2 separate regions of the Homo sapiens genome follow, and region 2 is linked to region 1. The links are contacts of gene promoters, found by promoter capture Hi-C in human tissues and cell types (Jung and others, 2019). All regions are on one chromosome and are shown on one strand. Each heading gives the region's core, a stretch centred on a gene start or on the middle of the fragment in contact. The rest is flanking DNA. Distances are from core to core; before and after follow the strand shown. Region 1 holds the start of TUBB2A (tubulin beta 2A class IIa). Region 2 overlaps SLC22A23 (solute carrier family 22 member 23).

Region 1 (7,368 bases), core at 3,623-6,122:
TCTTTATCACAACCCCAGGAAGCGGGTACTATTATTACTGTCACTTTACAGATGAGGCAACTAAGGCAGAGAGAGGTTAAGTAACTTGCCGAGGTCACACAGCTAAGAAGTGACAGTGAGGATTTGCACCCAGTCCATCAACTCTAGGCCCTGTGCTTTTCAACAGTCAGGGAACGCGGCAGGAGGGCACTGAGTCCTCTAAACGGCCTTAGTCATGGGAAGCAGAGATGAGTTTGCTCTGTAGATAATTCGGTATGCTCTGGACACCTCAGATTATGGGGAGAATGACAGTTGGGAGTAGGTTACATATTTTTGAGAATTTGTGAGATTATGTCTAAGTCATAGCAGAAGAAGATATAGTATTTCTTCACTCTTAATGTTGAAGGCAAAAAAAAAAAAGTTATAAAGGAACAAAAACACCTAAACAGCCCATGAATAGGAAAAACACAAAGGAATATAATACATCAAGCATTTAAAAAAATCTCGAGAACAGGGGATACACTTGTGCTCTTTAGTACTTTCTAAGTGTTTCTAATTTTATAATCAGGAAATATGTATATAAGATATATGTATATATAATTGCTGTGTACATTGTATGTATTTAAAAAAAACTTGGGGGGTTATAGCTTAATGAGAATTTGACATCAAGAATAACATCTTTGAGACCAGCCTGGCCAACATGGTGAAACGCTGCCTCTACTAAAAATACAAAAATTAATCAGGCATGGTGGTGCACGCCTGTAATCCCAGGTACTCGGCAGGCTAAAGCGAGAGGATCGCTTGAGCCTGGGAGGCAGAGGTTGCAATGAGCGAAGATCATGCCACTGCACTCCAGCCTAGTCGAGACTCCATTTCAAAAAAAAACAAAAAATGACATCTTCAGTTTTGAAAGGCCCCAGATCGACACTTGTAATATGAATGTCACATTCTGGGGCATGGCCCATTCCAGAAAGTGGCTAAAAATCTTCTATATATTTACTCTGTATTATTATAGTCATCTGATGCAAAAAAAAAAAAAAATTGTAAACTTTGGTGGGGTTGATATTTTAAAATTAAATTTAATTGGAGTTCAGACTTTTATTTTAGGTAACCTTTTGAAAAGGTTACATCCCCTTAAATGCTTTGAACAAAATTCTTCCATCTTCATAAAGAGATGCTTTTATTTAAAAAATAGCAGACAGGGGCTGCACTGGATGAGTTTCATGGGAAAGAGAAGTTGGAGCGGAGAGTGTGGCTAGTTCTCTGAGGGCACAAACAGGATGCAAGACTGTACCATACAAATTTAGACAATTGTATTGCTGGGATGGTCCTTGGGTTTTCATCATTCTGCAGAGGAAACTAGTGTTTTTGAAGTTCCAGGACTCTCTTACTTGGACCAACTAAATCTATTTCAACTAGATCACGACTGTCACCCTTAGAGATGGCATCAGTGAACAGTAACGATATCATCATAACACCACATATTCACAGGGTACGTTTCACTAGAACATTCTCACCAGGACCCTTCTCGTTGGGCCCTCTGAAGCAGCAGGCGGGAAGGGCAGGCAAAAGGGTAAGAGCTTATGTCCTTTTGTGAAAGACAGATGTGGCTCAGCCTCCTACCTGGAACACATTCTCTAGTCTGAATTTTGTCATTACACCTGCCCTTCCCCGCCCCCCGCCCCTCACCCCGCCAATGATGCCTTCAGGGTAGGGGTGGCTCAGACACTGCGAGTGGCATCCTGTCTAAAGCAGGAAGTGACTTGAGGCTGGAGGAGGTTGGTCCTCTTCCCCTTCCCCATCCCCGGCCCACCCAACAGCCGGTGGAGCTGCTCCTCTTTAGACACTGAAAAATACATGAAAGGGGAGAGATTGCTCCTTAAAAACCTATTCTAGGGAAGGGGACAATTAGCAGGCTCTATTTCCTCCTGTTATTATCTGCATCGGTGCTGTACAAGGTCGAGTTGCTTAGTGACAGCGAGGTGGGGTTGGGGATATCTACACTTGCCGCGAGGGAGGGGAGAGCAGGAACTCACGGCCTCAGATGAGTCACCTTAGGCAGGGCAGGCATTATTTAAAACTCCGCGTGTGAGTTTCTCTGATTATATACTAACACACATCACGGGCGGCACCGAGGGAGGAGCGCGTCAGAGAGAAGTAGGCTGGGCGTGAACTGCCAGGCAGGAGAAGGCCGACTTGGGCAGAACATTCACTGCCAGCGATCCAGAGCAGACAATCAGGTACCTGGCCTGCGCCCGTGAACACTGCCATGGATTTATTTTCTGTGCGCTCACTAATGTCCAGTTCACGCACAGTGCCTCCCAGCTCCCCAACGTAAGAAAAACCCATTTCCAGAGAAGCTCAGAGAGGTGCAGTGACTTGCTGGAGGACTGAGCTAGGAACAGCAGAGTGGGCACATGCTCCACAGGCCGGGAAACGCCCAGCTGCTAGGGGTCCCCGTGTCCCTAGTGCTGTCCCTTTCAGGTCTCATCCTCTGCTCCTATTTGGCCTCAGATTTCACGCTGAATTAAAACACAAAGGCCAAGAAGCAATTATCTCTGGAAAAATCTTTTCAGAACTGTGTAATGAGTGAAGGTACCCCAAGGAGAGCCATTCTCTGGAGAGGATCTGGAAGGCTCCGGCTGTGGTGAAGAGCCAAGATGTGAGAGTTGGGGTGGGGGTGGGGAGAAGGTGGAGGTCAAGCCCTGGGTACCTGGGAGTAGCATCCGAGGGACAGGTTGTCCACTGGGGGCCCAGCAGCAGGGAGAGGGGAGAGAGGAGGAGAAATTCTAGGAAATCTGTCCCCACCCTGAGAAGAGGCACTAGGCACCTGCCTACCTACATCTGGGAGGATGCTGGGCGCTTCCTAAAGCTGGGGTGATTAAGACCTAACTTGGCCTAAGAGGCTACTCACAGACATCTGGCTTTAGTTTCCACCTCCGATACAGACCAACTATTGAGGTGGCAGGTAGGGTGCACATTAGGAATGACAGCATCATCTTGGGTTTTTTGTTGTTGTTTTTTATTGAGACGCAGTCTGGCTCTGTCGCCTGGGCTGGAGTGCAGTGGCGCCATCTCGGCTCACTGCAAGCTCCGCCTCCCGGGTTCACGCCATTCTCCTGCCTCAGCCTCCCGAGTAGCTGGGACTATAGATGCCTGCCACCAGGCTCGGCTAATTTTTTTGTATTTTTAGTAGAGACGGGGTTTCACCGTGTTAGCCAGGATGGTCTCGATCTCCTGACCTCGTGATCCACCCGCCTAAGCCTCCCAAAGTGCTGGGATTACAGGCGTGAGCCACCGCGCCCAGCCCATCACCTTGGGTTTTACCAAGGCATTTTTACTCCATAAACTCAATGTGCTTTCATATATGGCTTCTCATCTCCTACCACAAAGCCAGCTCCAAGGCACCTGTAATTATCATCATTATATAGTTGGAATGTGCTGGGAACCAAAGGCAGTCCCCAAGCCCCTGTTACCTAGTCCACCGTGCAGGGCCATCTTTGTGAATAATTAAGTCAGGTCCTTACCACAGCCCACCCAAGCCTTTAAAACTCACCTGGGCTTTTTATTTATACAAAGGCTTTAGATTCCTTCCCTTCCTAGCTTTGTGGCTGGTCAGGTCTTTCAACCTCGCTTTCGGAGCTATGAAATTGGGGTAGTAATAATGCTTACCAGAAGCCGGTGGTAGTCAACAAAAATATGCGTAAGTGAGCAGCAAATGGAAACCAAGTATGTAATTTTACATTTTCTAATTTCAAAACAAGTCATTTAACACAATGTATCCAAAACACTATTATTTTGATAGACCATCAATATTTAAGAATCAGTAATGAAATATTTCACATTATTTTAACTTACTGAGCCCATAAAAGCCAGTGTGTTCTTCACACTTAACAGCCCATCTCAGTTCAGATTACCTACGTTTCAATGCTCGGCAGCCACCGTGCCTAGGGTCTACCGAACTGGCCAGCCTAGCTCCGACAGCTTCTGTGAGGATCAGGCGACCTAAGGGGTGTAAGGGGCAGGGCCATCAGCTGACACATCAACGTGGCAGATATATTCCTCCTGTCTTTCCTCTCTGACACACACACACACACACACACACACACACACACACACCCGCAGAATTTTCCACATTTAAAAGGCCTTTACAAGGACGCAGGAGCCCAAAGCGGACATGTGACAAATCCAGCCCTTTGATAGCCCCCCCAACCCCCGCCCCCGACCAAGCCATCTTCCTCCCCTGCAGGGGCGAAAGGCCGCCCACCCCGCCATCCTGGCATTCCTTTCAGGCAGCTGCCCGTCGGCTCCCCGCGGCCCCCCACTCCTCTCCACGCTGCCCACCCCACCCCCACAAACGGCGTCCAGGACCCTGCCCAGGATGCGGGAAACCTTTGCCACCCGCTGGAGAGCCCACTGCAAATGGGTCTTCAATTTCCGGCCCCCTACTCCAAAGGGTACTCGACGCCTCTTCCCGTCCTTAGGAGGCGAGGACCCTGTTCCGAGGCAGCCCCTCCCCCTGGTTCCGGGGCCCCCGGTCCCCAGCCCCCCTCGGGGGTCCAGAGTGGGCGGCTCGGGGTGGGGATCGCGGCGTGAGCGGAGGACCCAGCGCCAGGGGTCGCCCGTGCCCGTGGATCGGGCAGGGGGCTGCGGCTGGGCCCGAGGCCCGGGCACCGCACTCACCGCCGGACCGCGAGGCCGGCCGCCCACCCTAGACCCAGCGGCAGCAGCAATAGGGCGAGCGCCCCCACACCTCGCACCGCGCCCCGGCTCCCCCTCGCGGTGCCGCAGTCCCAGCCGCACCGCCCCCGCGGCCACAGCCCCGCCCGTCATGACGTCACCGGGCAGGGCGGGTCCCCGGGTATAAAAGACCGAGCTGGGGGGGCGGCGGCAGGTCTCTGCGCAGCCCAGCCCGCCGGTCCACGCCGCGCACCGCTCCGAGGGCCAGCGCCACCCGCTCCGCAGCCGGCACCATGCGCGAGATCGTGCACATCCAGGCGGGCCAGTGCGGCAACCAGATCGGCGCCAAGGTGGGCTCACCGCCACGGAGGGGCCCGGGGTTGGGACCGAGGGTGCGGGCTGGGGCCGGGGCGGGGGCTGGAGGCCGCGGCGGCCCCGGGCTGGCCGGGTGGCACATTCCGCGGCGAGGCCGCCGGGCGGGGTCCGGGAGGCTGCATGACCCGCCAGGATGCCCGCAGCGCCGCAGCTGTGTGTGCGTTTAATCGGGGGCCTTTCGATTTCCCTGGGACACAGCCCTTCTGCGGGACGCGGTTGGCATTCCCCTGGGTGTATTTGTCTCAGAAACTTGGGTCGGGGGTACGGTCATATTTATTGCGCTAGCTTCATGTGAATTTAATTTGTATATTTTTCTCTACGGTTTGAATGAAAACATGCAGTGTCACTGGACTGGCAGATGTAACAGAGGCGTCCCTTTGGGTCGTACAGGCAAGGGTGTTAGATAAATTCCCTTGCTCGGGCACTGTCTTGACATGATGACATACAACGCGATAGTCTTGCTGCCAGTCCCCGAGGCGGCAGGTGACTGCGCTGGGTGGGGGCTGCAATTACCGACCGCTGTGTGGGAGGCAGCAGCGGGTCTGGTGCATGGGTGGGGGCGGGCGCCAGTACAAGGACGTGGTCTCTTTGAGAACCGCCATGTTGCCCACCCAGCCTCCCCGCCGCAAATTCACAATGCAGCCAGCGCCCTCACGATGGCCAGCTCCTTCCACTGCCGCCCAGGTGCCCTCCCAGGCTCCTGCTGCCCTTCGCCCAGTCCCTCCGGTGGTCAGTGCCAGCATGTAGATCGGTGGCTTAAACCTGCACTGTTGCAGGAGTGCCTGGGATCTGTGCCAAGAGAGCTTGATCCCTGGAGGCAGCCACAGAGTGGGTCCCCCTGTCCTTGGCCTGCCACGACCCATCAATCATCCCGGATGCAATGGCATTCAGCCCTGCCTGGGGTGACACAGCCTCCCTGTACCCCTTCTCCACTTCTCTACTCTCCCCACCCTCTCCCTAGAAGGGCATCTGCTGTGTCCCCTCCTCCTCCAGGGCCCCTCCCAGCCTTTCAGTCTATCCCCATAATATGGCCGATGCTCTGCGGATTTTCAAGCCCCTCAGCAGCGGCTGCTGCAGGAAATAGGGGGTGCAGCTCTTTGCTCTCTGTCTAGCACTTACTAACTGTCTGACCACAAAAGCCCCTGTTCCAAGGACATGGGAGGAGGACAAGGCCATCCTTAGTGACATTCAGGATGCAGAGCCATGGTGTGGTTCTTTTTTCATTTCAGTTTTGGGAGGTCATCAGCGATGAGCATGGGATCGACCCCACAGGCAGTTACCATGGAGACAGTGACTTGCAGCTGGAGAGAATCAACGTGTACTACAATGAGGCTGCTGGTGAGTAGCGGGATGTGTGTGCCCAGGAATCCTTGCTTTCCATGATGTGGGAGATGAAACGTCCCAGGAACATGCACGTGACAAAGGCATGCTTCTTGCATATTCATTTCAAATGCCAACTGCTGGAAAAACATGTTTTATGGTTTCCTAAGATTCCTGCCTGTTTGCCACGGCTAAGCACACTCAGGACCTCCTTTTTCTTAAAAGCAGAAAATCTCCTGTTCTCCTTTTGTCTCAGATGCTGGAATTGAATGCTGCTGTGAGTCCCTCCCCAAGCACAGGCCTGAGTCAGTTCTTATTTCCTGCAGGTAACAAATATGTACCTCGGGCCATCCTGGTGGATCTGGAGCCTGGCACCATGGACTCTGTCAGGTCTGGACCCTTCGGCCAGATCTTCAGACCAGACAACTTCGTGTTCGGTATGTAGTCATGATCACTGGGAACTGGCCAAATGACACACCTTCTTCCTAACAGCCCTGCAAAGCACAGTTCTTAGTGTTCAGTGCCAAGGTGACACTGTGTCCACGGCAGCCCTGAGTCCTGGCCTAGCTCCATGCAGTCCATGGGTGGTCATGGCTCACAGATCAACGCCAGCCTGCAGAGGGCTGCTGCAGCCCTCCCATTGCAGAGCAGCCTCAGACTGGAAGGAAGAAAGAGCAAGGAAAAGCTTCAAGCCAGGCTTCATAGGCTATAGGCAACTTGAAAGGACTTCAAAGAGCCAGGGGCCAAAAGCACAGGTTATGACCAGAGCTAGACAGATGCTGAGGCCACCTTCTCTGCTGGTCACACTGCCTTCACCTTGCCTGTTTAATTGTAGTTGAGTATAAAGAGAATGCCTCTTAAAAATGTATGTATTTCAGAACCAATTAAGTTTTCTAACCCTATCCTCTTCCTCAATCAATAGCCTCAGATGAGCTAAACTTACTTCTTACTTTATTATGATCCCCAGTGTTTTTGAGGTCACTGACATAGAAAAATATTTCTTCAGGTAAAAGA
Region 2 (7,368 bases), core at 1,480-3,979, 120 kb before region 1:
TGATCTGCAAATTAAATATATTTCATTTTATTTGGCACAGTTAACAAGATAGATCAGTATGATGTGGTTCACCAGGCACAATGCAAGGCTTTTGTTCCATGCAGTTTGCCCTTTAACAGTGGCCCTCTGCCCACCCCTCCTGGGGGTCTGTACTCTGCCCTCCTGTATGTGACTCCCGTGTGAGTAAGGGGAGTCCTCTCACTGCTTGTCAGTGCCGTCCACATTTAGTGCCGGGAAGGTCAGGCAGAAACCTGGGAGGTTTCCGAGAAAATGCTGTCCCCATTAAAATCATGTCCATTATCCCTAGCATCTGATATGCCCTGTGGCTTCCTGAAAGAGCCAGGTCTACCAGAAAGACTTAATTGGCTATTTTAGGTGTTCAGTCTTCATCTTACAGAAGGATTTGGTCTTATTGCTCATTTCCGTGGTTGTCTCTATTTAACCTGTCCCATTCACCTGGGTGAGCTGACCTTCCTATCCAGGAAGCCCGTGTGATCCGCAAGCATCCGGTATTTATTAAGCACAAACAGCACGTGCCTGTTGATGTCCTAGAAAATAATTCTTGCCCTTGAAGGGCTCAGAGACTAGTAAGGTGACAGGCACATGAACAAATAGTGACAGAAAGATGCAGAGTGTCTTTGAACGGTGGTCTGGGACCCTCAGCCTGGGAGGAGTTTGAGTATCTGGGAGACATCCCCCAAATTCTTGCTCTTCCTCATCCATATCGTCTTCAGGCCCAGAAGCACAGTGGTGTGGCTATTCCTGCAACTCTTTCAGCCTCTCCCTGGGAAGGGCTTTCTAATATGAAGTGCTGATGCCTGTCACAGCCTGCATGAGAGGTGGCTGTCAGTCTCCCTCCGTGGCTAAGGCAGGGGAATCTGTCACTCACCGAGTATCTTGGTTTTCTATTGCTGCATAACCAATCGCTCCAAAACAGGGGCCTGAAGTAGCATGCATCTACTATCTTATGGTTTCCATGGCTCCAGAGTCTGGGCACGGCCTGGCTGGGTCCTCTGCTCCAGGTCTCTCAGAGGCTACCATCAGTGGGTAGGGCCCACCACTAAACCAAGTCAGGCACTGGTAGGCTGTTTCCTCACGGGCTGTGGGGCTGGCAGCCTCAGCTCCTTGCTGGCCGTTGGCCATAGGGACCACAGTCACAAGGCAGCTCGCTTCGTCAAAGCTAGCAAGAGTCTGCTAGAATCTGCCTTTTGGAACCTTGTTGTGGAAGGAACATCTCACTATCCTGGCCGTAAATTTGATTGCTAAAAAGTACGTTATTTGTACCTTGTACCTTGAGGGCCAGCGCACACTCAAGGCACAAGGGTGGGAATTACTGGGGCCAGTCTAGAAATCCGACTATAGCACTGAGTAGATGCCCAGGTGCCAGCCAGGTCTCAGTGGCTGGGCAGGTGCTGGGGACAGCACACGGAGTGGAGCCTGGTCCTGCCCTGGAAACATCTGGTGTCTATTAGAGACACACAGACACGCAATGCGAATGTGTCTTCGGGCTACACAAGTGTCCTGAGGATGCAGGGGAAGTGCCCAAGAGAGCCTGCTCAGTCTGGACTCAGAAGGGTGGCTGGGACGGGATTCCCAGGATGTGGCCTGGAGCCCGCACATAGTGGCTCTAGAGGCGATGCGTGTTTGGCAAGTGCACTGCGGCGGGAGGAGGTGAGGCTGGATTCCTAGGGCTCGGGGAGCAGGAGCAGAGGTTCCTGGAAGGGTGAGGGTGGGCGGGTGTGAAGCAGCTTGAGGAGGCAGTGTTTGCAGAGCTTGGTGCCTCACCGAGAGGAAGGCCAGGGTGGAGGAGAAGGGTCCCAGTGGCACAGCCCCCTCTGCCAACTTTTAGGACTCCATGTCATGCCTGGAGGCTTTAGGCCCATGGGAGAGGCTCATCCTGTTCGCCTCCCAGTTCTTGAACCTCTCCAGCTCTGGTTCCTCCTACACCCAGCTGCCCCCTAGACCCTGAAAGACTTGGGTGGCCCCTTCCCGGCACTCAATGGATGCCACCTGGAACCAATCAAGCCACGGATCTTCCTGTCCCCATGCTAGTCACATTCGTGCTTTAACCTCCACTGCACTTGGACATTGGAGCTTTTCTCATCCCTGTTTTATAGATGCAGACCGAGGCTTCGGGAAGTGAAGCTGGTGGGCGGGGGCCAGGATTCTAGCCCAGGCTCATGGGCTCCAGAACTCCTGCTCCCAGCCACGGCACTCGCACCTTTGTGGCAGCAAAAGTCTGTTCTGTAGCTCACTTTGGGCTGGCTCTTTTTATGTGGGTTTACTCAAGGCTTGGAGGCTAATGGCTGATGCCCCAGTCTTGACAATCATCTAATGGAATAAACATTAACGAAGACCCTGTACCAGAAGGCATCTCCTTCCTCGAGAAATGCACAGACGGCGCCCTACCCAGGTAGCCTGTGGGAGCTCGGCTGAGCCAGCATAGGCCAACCTCACAGAGCGAGCACCAGACAGAGCTGAGGGACCCCGGTGCCATGAGTATTGGGACTGAAAGGCAGAGGACAGGAGGAAGAGGTGGGGCCCCCAGGACCTGTGCATCACCTTGCAGGCAGGAGGGAGCCATTGGAGGACTCTGAGCAGCCAGGTGATATGATTAGCTCTGTGTTCTAGGAAAATCGGTTTGGCAATGGTGAGGAAACAAAGTCTAGGGGGTGCAGAAGATGCGCCAGGGAGGAGCGCAGACCCAGGCGGCCTGGAGTGGAGGCCCTGAGGACTTGGTCATGGGCTGGACAGGAAGGAGCTGGGAAAGGGAAGAATCCAGCGAGTCTTTGTCCCCTAGGGCTGCAAGCCTGGCAAGGCTGCCCTTGTGCCCCCAAGCCCTGTGCCCATGGTGGATGCAGATGGGTGGACTGCAACCAACAGAGAGGCAGTCATTTCTACATTAGAGGGAGAAAAGGCAGAGCAAAGTGTCTTCTCTTATTTTGTTACAGGACAAAAGCCCCCAACACACACACACACACACAATCACCATTCTTCCATTGCATTCTGAGAAAAAGGCTCCAAATCTGTGAATCTTCCTGGGGTTATTAGCATAGACCTGTGTATATCTGGTTTATGAGGGCCACCTGGGAACCCTGGGACTCCCATCCTCCCTGCCCAGGTCACCTTTGCCCAAGCCTCTTTGGGCATGAGCCACTGTGTCTGGCCTGCCCATCTTTTTACTGGATTATCTGTCTTCTTTTTGAGTTATAAGAGTGGCGTGGTGGCTCACGCCTGTAATCCCAACACTTTGGGAGGCCAAGGCGGGTGGATCACGAGGTTAGGAGATCAAGACCACCCTGGCTAACACAGCGAAACCCCGACTCTACTAAAAATACAAAAAATTAGCTGGGCATGGTGGCACGCGCCTATAGTCCCAGCTACTCAGGAGGCTGAGGCAGGAGAATGACATGAACCTGGGAGGCAGAGCTTGCAGTGAGCCGAGATCATGCCACTACACTCCAGCCTGTGCGACAGTGAGACTCTCAAAAAAAAGTTCTTTATATATTCTAGTTACAAGTCCTTTATCTGATATATGCTTCACGAATATTTTCTCCCAGTCTATGGTCTTTTTTTCTTAAACATGTATCTTTTGAAGGGTAGGAGTTTTTAATCCTAATGAAGTCCAATTGATCAGCTTTTTCTTTTATGGATCCTACTTTTGATGTTATGTGTAAGAAATCTTTGCCTAACCCAACGTCATAAAGCTTTTCTCTTGTTTTCTTCTAGAAGCGTTATAGTTTGAGCTAAGTTAAGCACTTAGATTTTATTATCCATTTTGAGTTCATTTTTTTACATGATGTGAAGGGTCCAACATCATTCTTTTGCACATGAATATCCTGTTGTCCCAGCACCACCTGTTGAAAAAACTATCCCTTCCCCCTCACTGGATTTGCCTCCATCTACAGTCAGTTGACCATAAATGTGAAGGTTAGTTTCTGAACTCCCAGTTCTGTTCCATTGATCTATTGATATATACACCAACACCACACTGCCTTAAGCCGTATGGCTTTATAGTTTTGAAACTGGGAAGGCAAGCCTTCTTTGTTCTTTTCCAAAATTGTTTTTGACTACTCTGAGTCTTTTGCATTTCCATATAAATTTTAGAATTGGCTGTTTTCTGAAAAAAAAAAAAAGTCACCTGGAATTTTGATAGGGATTATGTGGAATGTATAGATCAATTTGGGAAAAATTACCATCTTTATAATATTTAGTCTTCTAATTCATGAACATGGAATGTCACTCCATTTATTTTTATCTTTTAATTTTCAGCAATGTTTTATCTTTTTCAGCATACAAGTCTTGCATTCCTTTGTTATTTATTTCTAAACATTTTATTCATTGGATGTTATTGTGAATGGCATTTTCATTTTTGGGTGTTGCTAGCACGTAGACATATAATTGACTTTTGTATGTTGATCTTTTATCTTGTGACCTTGTAGGACAGTCTTTTGGTGAGTTAGGAGCTACCTATAGTGCCAACCAAGAGAACCACAGACTAGTCAAGAGCTGGAGTTATCTACCTGCCTCCTACCTGTTGCAGGGACCTCCCTTTCAGCCCACTCAGCCTCAGCAGTTCAAAGGATACAGCCCTCTTCACTTCAAGGGGGTGCCTAACGAGCAGCCCATTAGAAAGCTTCCCCAAACCAAAGGACCAGTCTACCTGCTGCTGTGGAGCGAGGCACACAACTCCACTCCCTCTTCCTTGAGACAAGGCCACCTCTGCCTACCTCCTTCAATGAGGCCCCAGAACTGGGGACCAGGCAGCCCTCTCTAGCCTGGCCTGACACCTGAGCGCCACGGTCCCACTGCAGCCTGGTACAGCACTGCTTTCTCAGGGGCCACAGAACACCTTTGTCCCAGTAATGTGTTTTTAGGTCAAAGTGGAGAGGTTTGAGGGATAGGGGTTCTGTAAGTTTTGCGTATCTACTAATCCCTGGGACTCTTGGCTGCTCCCGTACAAGGCAGGGAGTGGAAATCAATGGCTTGCCTTCTGGACTTTGGTTATCCTGAGCTCAGAGCTGCAGTGAGTTCCTCTCTGTCAGTGCACAGCTTCATTTGGGGGACCCTTCAGGCACAATCCTCAGAGATGGGACCGTTTCCAATGGTGGTATGTGAGCAATTTCAGGAGACACGTGGGCCATCAACTCACAGTGAGGAAACTACTCTTTTAAAGTATCTTGCAGTCTCTCCAGTTATGACAAAGAGAAAGTCTCTGTTCGTGTTGGTATGTCCTTAGTACCCTCTTTAACCCTTGGTAATCCCCCAGGCCTTCAGGAAATGGCATAATTTCAATCCCTTTTGTTTTTCCTTGTATACTACTTATGGCAAGTAATATCAGCTTCCCATTTACAGTAGTATTATATAAGGCTGCCTTTCAAAATAAAGTTCTCATGGTCCCCAGCCCTGAAAAAACAATAAAAATAGGAAACATTAAAGAAAAAGATAAATTAAGTAAAAGCTTTTGATTTGATGAGGAAAAACAGTCACTGCCGTAGAGTGGCCTTGTACAGACACAGCCAGGGTGCTGGTGACATGGGACGTGTGAGGTCGGGGTATACTGGGCAGTGCCCAGGGCAGCAGGGCCCCTGCAGAGGTGGCTTCCTGGTCCACCCCGAGCTTTCCCGGGATCCAGCCCGCTAGCCCACAGCAGCAATCCCTGTGCTTCCCTCCCCCTGCAGGTGTGGCGGGCTGGGGCTGGTGCTGGCCAGCGCGGGCTTCGGCATGCTGACGGCACCCATCATCGAGCTGCACAACCAGAAAGGCTACTTCCTGCACCACATCATCTTTGCCTGCTGCACGCTCATCTGCATCATCTGCATCCTCCTGCTGCCCGAGAGCAGGGACCAGAACCTGCCTGAGAACATTTCTAACGGGGAGCACTACACGCGCCAGCCGCTGCTGCCGCACAAGAAGGGGGAGCAGCCACTGCTGCTCACCAACGCCGAGCTCAAGGACTACTCGGGCCTCCACGATGCCGCAGCCGCGGGTGACACACTGCCCGAGGGTGCCACGGCCAACGGCATGAAGGCCATGTAGCCCGGCCTGCGGAACCCGGGGCTCCAGGGTCTGGGGCAGCTTGGGCACAGGTTTACAGACCAGGGACCGAACACGCAGCCAGGGGTGGGAAAGCTGCCTCAGCCAAGCTGAGCCTCTCAACTGGTGTGGGGAAATCCTGTCTTTCCAAAAGTCCAAGGAGCGCGGGTCGGAGGAGACAAACTCTTTGGAAATAACCCTTTCAAGACTTTCTTTTCTGCCGTTAAATGTGTGTATTTATTTTGGTCATTTTTACGAGAAGCACTTTATTCCCTCTCCCTCTCACTGATCACAAATGGAATCACCTCCCTGGGCAGCGAGACGCAGTTGCTCTGGGAAGATGCCACAGTGACCAGGGCCATGGCCGGTCCCTCTGGGGAGATGGGACACGGCTCCTGGCAGCACCCAGGAGCCCCCCAGGCTGCCTGCCTGCGTGCAGAGGCAGGAGAGGACCGTGGAGCGTTTCCGGGACTGCATTTTAGACGGAGTGAAATGTACATGAATTTGGCTTTTGCTAGAGTCTGTGTATGGTTTTTTAAGGTCCTTTTTCCCTTTCTGTTTGTAAGGTAAGAGCTTCTGTTCGTGTGCAGGGAAAGCAGCTCACAGACGCCGTTAAAACCAGCTTCATCTTTCCTTCAGGATCATCCTTTTGTACTTGATGCTGGAAGCTCTTGGAGAAAAAGCTTAAACATTTCACCAGAAATCTTAATTGAGCAGCAGTCATATCGCCACAGCTTTGTGAGTACACAGCTAACAGATGCGTCGAGACCTGAGATGTGCTCGTTTTTATTCCTCCTCTCCCAGATTGGCTCCAGCAGAAAAGTCCCTCGTGCACAGGCAGCTCTTGTGCCGGCACTACTTGAAAACATGGCTACTTTCTAAGCTACAAACCATTAGAAAATAACTCAAAAAGATGGCAGAGGCAAATCCACAGAAGGGGGGCTGCCCTCCACACACACACGCCCGTCACCCACACCTTGAGCACACACCATGAAGATCACCAGCTTGGATGGCCGTCACCTCAGACATCACTCCAGGGAGCACCCGCAGGAGCTGGGCCCCCTCACGCCTGCCTTCCTGGGCCAGCTTCCTGCTTGCAGTCACTCGCATAGCACAGAGGTGGGGCTTCGGGCAGGGAGCGGAGATTCCTCATAGGTGAGTCCAAATGACCTCCAGCCTCTCGAAGGCATCAAGACAAATTGAAAGAAAGCAATAACTCACCAAAGCTCAACGCTGCCCCTGCCTCGACCTCCATGGGTCTCTTCGTGTTCCTCGTTTCACCCCAGAAAGTGGAGGTTTCCTCTTGGCATTTTCGGAGGAAACTTGTAGGAC

The links. Contacts are between HindIII fragments. The study calls those that stand out against the background at their distance.
Region 2: a contact is called between a fragment that was not itself captured here and the fragment with the promoter of TUBB2A in region 1, in 3 of the 25 tissues and cell types used here (dorsolateral prefrontal cortex, hippocampus and pancreas).

The regions. Positions count from the first base shown.
Region 1 is chr6:3,155,048-3,162,415 of GRCh38, reverse strand. TUBB2A (tubulin beta 2A class IIa) reads left to right here and starts at 4,872. Exons shown (of 4, transcript NM_001069.3): 1 at 4,872-5,009; 2 at 6,264-6,372; 3 at 6,681-6,791. The coding sequence starts at 4,953. LOC105374889 (a long non-coding RNA gene) reads right to left here and starts at 4,715. Exons shown (of 2, transcript XR_926395.3): 1 at 4,663-4,715; 2 at 2,980-3,984. RefSeq lists a cis regulatory region at 1,674-2,268 and a silencer at 4,531-4,990. The HindIII fragment of the contact is 12,624 bases long and covers 1-7,368 here.
Region 2 is chr6:3,271,726-3,279,093 of GRCh38, reverse strand. It overlaps SLC22A23 (solute carrier family 22 member 23), which reads left to right. Exons shown (of 10, transcript NM_015482.2): 10 at 5,682-7,368. The coding sequence ends at 6,039. Among named protein-coding and RNA genes, the nearest start is that of PSMG4, 16 kb to the right of the region's middle. The HindIII fragment of the contact is 4,641 bases long and covers 409-5,049 here.